Regions from separate parts of the Homo sapiens genome. Here region 1 is linked to region 2. The links are contacts of gene promoters, found by promoter capture Hi-C in blood cells and fetal thymus (Javierre and others, 2016). All regions are on one chromosome and are shown on one strand. Each heading gives the region's core, a stretch centred on a gene start or on the middle of the fragment in contact. The rest is flanking DNA. Distances are from core to core; before and after follow the strand shown. Region 1 overlaps MACIR (macrophage immunometabolism regulator). Region 2 holds the start of PAM (peptidylglycine alpha-amidating monooxygenase).

What was found. Contacts are between HindIII fragments. The CHiCAGO score rates a contact against its expected background, and 5 or more counts as called.
Region 1: a contact is called between a fragment that was not itself captured here and the fragment with the promoter of PAM in region 2, in 1 of 17 cell types (total CD4 T cells). The highest score is 6.2, in total CD4 T cells.

The regions. Positions count from the first base shown.
Region 1 is chr5:103,275,472-103,278,920 of GRCh38, reverse strand. MACIR (macrophage immunometabolism regulator) reads right to left here. Exons shown (of 3, transcript NM_033211.4): 3 at 261-3,024. The coding sequence starts at 3,001. The coding sequence ends at 2,381. Among named protein-coding and RNA genes, the nearest start is that of MACIR, 18 kb to the right of the region's middle. The HindIII fragment of the contact is 4,833 bases long and covers 1-3,449 here.
Region 2 is chr5:102,753,958-102,757,277 of GRCh38, reverse strand. PAM (peptidylglycine alpha-amidating monooxygenase) reads right to left here and starts at 1,973. Exons shown (of 26, transcript NM_001177306.2): 1 at 1,930-1,973. RefSeq lists enhancers at 1,250-1,339, 911-1,411, 2,419-2,944 and a silencer at 1,730-2,279. The HindIII fragment of the contact is 4,564 bases long and covers 1-3,320 here.

The DNA.
Region 1 (3,449 bases), core at 587-3,086, 520 kb before region 2:
AAATTGGTTCTTACCTACCATAGGCTACAATTCCATGGGGTGCAGAGAAAGTAAGACTGAACTAATAAAGGGGTTCTGCAAACACATTGTGAAAATTACTGGCCTAGAGTTTTGAAACTTTCTTTCTAGAAAACCAAATTTAAAATTATATATCTTTACTAATCAAAAAAGAGTAAGTATGCCATATCTTATACTATTAACCCCCCTATTTTTGCCACAGAGTTTCACCTGTCTTTCAGGAAAAAACAAAACAAAACAAAAAAAGCTACAAATTTTTATTTAGCTATTATTAAGGAACGTAGGCACACGGACAGAACAGGTCTCATAGGTAACCAGTTGTGTTTCCTAATAGGGTGAATACATATCATTGCCATGAATACATCTTTTATCATAAAATGCCAATGAGCATCAAAAGTAAATGGTTTGATTGTTGTTGTCACTGTTTTGTTTAAGAAAAATAGGGCCTTAAAATAAGTGCTTCAGTGGAATTCTTGAACAGTAAGTAGCCTGTTGATAGTGGACCTAGTTTAAAGCACCACACAACAATGTGTGTTTACATCACCCCTTTATTTCATAGTTAGAAATAATACAGTTCCACAGGGTAAATTGTCAATAAATAATGGTGTTTAATCATTAAACATAAAAATCCCACTCTTTGGCATCTGACAGGATTCTATTTCTTGTCAAACTAATGACTGTATAGATATAGCTAATCTTAGTGATCATTCGTCAATACAATATGTTACAAAGGTGCAATTTACTTTAAAATATACAACAGCGAAACATTTCCAGCCCAACGAGAAATCTGATCAACTTAGTAAGATATGGGCCAACTTCCCCAAGGCTCTTTCACGTAGTTTGCCTTAATGAAAGTGTAATAAACGTTGATTAAGAGTTCCTAGGGTTTTCTAATACTTACTTTGCTCTAAATAGAGTTTGCCATTCATTCTGGCTAAAGAAAAATCACAATTGCACCAGGAATGACCCACTCATTAATTAAAAGGTGTTCTTATTTTATAAGCAAGATTGCTAATACCTAAGAAACTCACAGACCCCAAAATAAAAAGCAGTTCTGTGCTGCCAGAAATCCCAATTCAGTAATAAATTGCACCTTTAAGAGTCAAAAATGAGGGAAAAAAGAAATGGAACGTTTACAAAAGGTAAGTTACATACATTTTTTTTTCAAAATATATTCAAGAATAGTTGAGCTGTATTTGTTACTAAACCCAGGGCATTATTTCTTTAGCAACAAATTAAACCAGTGCAATTGACATAAATTGTTAAGTAATCCAGGATTAACCCATTAAAACAGTAGAAGCACGTTAGGCTCCTACACTAATCCTAGAAACTGGAATTTCAGTGAGTGCTTGTGTTACACAGAACTAAAACTGCAATGACCTGATGCCATGCTGAATGGTATCACTTCATACTTAGTTTAATCATTCAATAGTACAAATCATGAGTTCCTCTATTAAACTATTATTCACTTACAGAAAATTCAGATGCAAACAGTATTATGCCTATAATCCACAATTAAAAGAATCCTTTCCCATTTAAAGTTCCAGGTGAATTTTAAGTTAGAAAATAAGCACTAAGGAGAGTTTTTTCAACTTATGAAAACGTCATATTGGAAACTTTCTGGAAAAGTTTCCCCCGCCCACCCATTGTAAAATAAATACTTTGTATCCCAAATTTAATTTTATTAAGACACACTTTAATAACGCTATAAAGAAATATTTTACAGCCATAGAGATCAATAACTTTCCATGCGGAAATAAAAAATTCATTGCTCAATAACATTATTGAGGCAAGTGAAGAAAGATTACTCTCTTGTCAATCTGAAATGTTAATTTTTTCAGTGCAAAACCAGTTATAAAATATTTAAACTCAATATTTAAAAATAAAAAGTGGTCCAATTCAGCAATGTTCAAGTTCTAAATTTCATAAAACAAATCATTACATACATTTTATAGTAAAATACAGAGATTCAAGAAGTACTTGAGTACTGAAGATATAAATTTCTAATGAATCATATCAAGTCAGCAACAACCAAGCAGGTAACATTCCCAATTTGAGTGTCAGAATCATAAAGATGAAATTACTGTACCAAAGCCTTTTTTTCCTAGCTAAAAAGCTATACAAACTAACAGTCAACATTCTGTTTTCTTTGCAGTTGCGTGCTCTAGAATGATATCCCCCCCCCAAGTACCTGTGATTTCATTCCTGTATTCAAATTTGACCCAAACAATTTTTATGTTCCAGGAACACTTAGCTGATATAACCATCTATAGTGTGAAGAGTCATGTACAGAGTACAGCAGTGGGTTTTTTCTAGCCAAGCGTAGGCTGACCTAAATTGGTTTAAGCTCTCTCCAAGTCATTCATGTATTATTCCTAGCAAACACACGGTCCCCTCGGAGGGTTAGGTGTTGAAGCTGGTACTGTAGCACTTCTGTATCAGCTGGCTCCTTGATCATTTTATCTAGATTGAGGTAGTCCAGAGATTTGGAGTGAGCCCTCTTACCTTTAAGAAGACAAAGAGGCAGAGGCCCATGGAGGGCCTTGTAAGGTTCATAAGGTAAAGATTTAGTGCACTTGTCTCCTGAGCTTGGCATCCGCCTTCGCCTCCTGCCATTGACAGCTGGAATCTCGTATGGCTGGTAGTACCTACTTCTGGTTTTATACAAACGAGAGGAACGGGCAAGTCCTGCATCTAGCTGTTTGGAGCGTAAGGATGGCATGGCTTCTGCTTTGCTCTCTTCACCTCCTGTGCACTTCTGAGCTAACTTCAGGAGTTCCTCGCCAGTCGTGAAGCCAACCAAATAGTTAGAGTCCATGTGTAGGATCTGGTAGCCTGACACGGTCCTCCGCATCGGGGAGCAGGGTGTGCTGGAGCAGCGGGGCTTCTCTGCCTCCGCCTTTCCCGGGGAGTTGGCCTCAGCCCCAGGGAAGGGCAAGGTGGTCAGGGTACTTCTAGACTCTCCATTAATATCGACTTCCATTTTAAGCACCAGTCTGCACAATCCTAAAAGTAAACAGACTTAGATTAGAAGAATATAATGCACAGAGACTTGGGCCAGGCCAGGTCCTTTTAGAAGGCTCAGGGAGCATGAAGTAACACTTGCCTGAAAGACAGTCAATGTACCACTGACATGTAACTATGTCTACTAAACGTTTCAGAGCGGGCATGAAATGACAATACCTCTCTGCCTTTAAGAACTGAAAGGCAAGTTAAATTAAAGTCTGATGTACTACCAAAAAGTTCAGATGGAGAAGCAAACAGAAAACAACAACAACAATACTTCTCTAAATTCCGCACTCTATTCAATCACATAAAGTTTATTCCTTAATGCAATATCAAGCGAGTCAAATACAGATCTCAGCATTAAGCAAATGAAAGCCATCATACATAGTTTCATAAGAACACACAAAATATTTCTGGCTTGAAAG
Region 2 (3,320 bases), core at 724-3,223:
TCAGCTCACTGAAACCTCCACCTCCCAGGTTCAAGCGATTCTCCTGCCTCAGTCTCCCAAGTAGCTGGGATTACAGGTGCCTGCCACTATGCCCAAGTAATTTTTTGTATTTTTAGTAGAGATGGGATTTCACCATGTCGGCCAGGCTGGTACGGAACTTCTGACCTTGTGATTTGCCCGCCTCGGCCTCCCAAAGTGCTGGGATTACAGGCGTGAGCCACCGCAGCCGGCCAAATGATGATCTTAAAGGGCCTTTGATAATGCATTCTTGACCTCATTCTACTTGCCATGTATAGTCATTAGAAGACTGTTCATATAAAAATATGAAATAAAACTACATAGTCTTTAAGTTACCTTGGAAGGCCCTTCAGGACAAGGAACATACTCTATATCTTTATATCTTTAAAGCATATAGCAGAGTGCATCGCGGAATGAAAATGCCTATTAAGTCAGGAATGCAGGAACGACAGGGCTTACCATTTAATATCAATTCTAAAGCTGATTATTTATTTTTGAGACAGGGTCTTGCTCTGTCACCGAGGCTGGAGTGCAGTGGTATAAACACAGTTCACTGCAGCCCTGACTTCCTGTAAAGCTGATTTTTTAGGCCATTTACTTGCTTTATAAAGTAACTAGAATGGCATGAACTATGCTTTTTTGTGCCTGTGATTATAAACTGAAAATTTACAAACAATATGTCACATGTTATTTGAGCTAAATGTCTGATTTTACTAAAATGAAAGTATCCTTCCTGGATTATTAGAATTAGCAGTAAATTTAAGTTTGCACCTAGAAGAGAAAAGCGATTGTAAAGAATGTAAAACATCTGAAGCAAACAAAGTCCAATAAGATCTTCCTTCTACTTGAATTTCTATGACCACAAAGGCACAGGATGTAAGGTCCATAGCTTTGTACACAGGGATTGGTGGGGACGACACGATTTCAACTCTGAACCCCAATGACCAGCTCCAGGAACACATGCCTTTTAGCCCCGCAAAGCTACTGACCAAATCACCCAGAGAGATAATCACATCTCAGCCAAAGGACCTGAACTCAGACGATCAGAACACAGGACCTGCCATCAGGCAGCTGCACGAGACAAGAGACCGTGCTCAAAATCACGTAATACCCTAAGTCATCCCAAGGGAGCCCCACAACTACCCTCAGCGGCAGGCAGAGCTGACGCATATTTTGCAGATGACAACATACAGGTTCCGATGGGGCGGGTCCCAAGGCCACAGAGCTGGGAAGGTGACTGAACCTAGACTTAACTAGTATCCCAAGTGGTGGATACTTCCCATTCTGCCTTGGAGATCGCCCTTCGCCCGCGTATTACATTCGGAGGCTGGCAAAACGGCAGGAAGAGAGCAAAGCTGGGCAAGGACGGGAAAGAAAGAGGGGAAGGAATTTCCACTGCTTCCCGGCACTCGCCCCCACTCCACACCCCAGGTTGCTACTCCGCGGCGGCCTCTACTTCCCCAAACTAGACTGAAGGGCGGGCGGAGAACCGAGGAGGCTTTCTAGGCGTCACGGAGAGTTCTCCAAGTTGGGGGCAGAAAAGGCGAATGAACAAATTGTACCCCCTAGGGAGAGGGCACAAGGAGAAGTGCGGAGGTGAGAAGGACCGGAGGGGAGGACGACCCCTCACAAACTGGCCAGGGACTTAATAATGGTGATGAAGGGTCGTGAGAGAGGTTTGGGAAATGCGAGAATAGCTCAGTCCCCAAAATCCTCCCTGGCCGCATCGCTGGATCCCCGCCCCATCCCCCCACCCCCGACCCGGGCAGCCCGGGAGAAAAAGCAACAACCTCCTGGGGCACCAGGAATTGGTGGCAGCAGGATCCCGAGCCCAGGCCCCCTTCCGCGCCCCCACCCTCACCCTTGCCCTGACCGCCTCGCAGTGGCGGCAGCAGCGGCAACAACACCAACCTGCGCGACCACGGGCTCTGTCCGGGACGGAAGCCGGAGCCTGCGGGCGGCGGAGCGGCGGGCGGAGTTAGTTGGAGGCTCCGGCTCCCTGGGCGGGGACAGGCTGAGCACGCGGAGGCAGCGGCGGTGGCGGGGGCTCCCTCTCCTCGGCGTGCGCCGGGCCCAGCCGGGTCCGCCGCTCGCCCTCGACTCCTGGGGCAGGTCTCAGTCCCTCCCCGGGGGCGGCTCCCGGGCCAGCCCCGCGCTCGCCTCCTCCACGCCGGCGGCCTCTGCTCCGCCCTGCCTCTTTGGGCGCAGGGGGCGCGGAGCTTGGGAAGTGGAGCCCTGGCGAGTCCCCAGCGATTGCGCGCAGCTTCCCGGGGTTTCCCTGCGGGGGTCGCGTGTGCTGGGTGTCTGAACTCACGCGCGGGCCAGAGGTAGCCAAGAGCTGGAACTCTTGCCCAAGTGCCCCGGGGAAGGGAGTGAAGGCCCGGCCTGAAAGTCTCTGACCCTCCCGAGTCTCGTGTCCCTAGAAGCAGCCTTGCGAGGTGGCCACGCCAGCTGCCCTGAGAGAAGCAGAGGAAAATGTCCGACTCTCCCTCCGCCCAGCTTCGCGCCAGAAGAACGTTTCCCGAGAGAAGGAAGGACCCATTGACCCCCAGCCCTTGCTCCAGCCTGGAGACCTGGCTGAGTGCATGGAACTGGAAGGATGGCAGAGTACCGGGGCTGAAAGCCTGGGAAATGTGCTATTTCTATTCACACCACCCCCTTGCCCGGCCCCTGGATTCAGGCCACCTCGCTCAGGTCTGCGCAGTGCTTCCCAGTTCACACCTCCGACCCGAGGAGGGAGGTCGGTATCCCTTTCTTAGCCTGGCTTCCCGCCTCCATCTGCATCCCTTTCTGCTAAACCTTTTTAACCCGCAGAGTGCCCAGCGCGCACACACCGATCACTTCGCCCCTAAACTGCGGGCAGGGAACTCTGGAGCCACCCACATCCCCAGCCTCACCCCAAAGCAAGAGAAAGCAGGGAGCCGCGCGTGGGGTGGTGGGGGCGGGGCTGGAGAGTTCCAGTAGGAAGGTTTTATACCCAAGAGGCTTGATGATGTGCAGTACTGACCCCACACACAAATTGATATGCGTTTAATTGAAGGCAGGTATTTGCCACTGTCTCTCCCTGTCTGCAGGTAACCGCTTGAGTGCGTTCACCTCGCCTCTTCCATCCCCAGCGCCAGCCCAGCCCCCTCTCTTTCTCCCAGAGTCCCATCCTCCTCTCCCTCACCTCTCCCATCCCAGCTCCCTGCAGCGCGGGTCCCGAGCTGCTCCAGATCCCCAGCACCCAGCTCTGGTCTTTCCAGACAACTCCTCCCCTTCAGAATCTGGTGTGGTAGCAGGGAGGTTGTGAGAAGGGACAC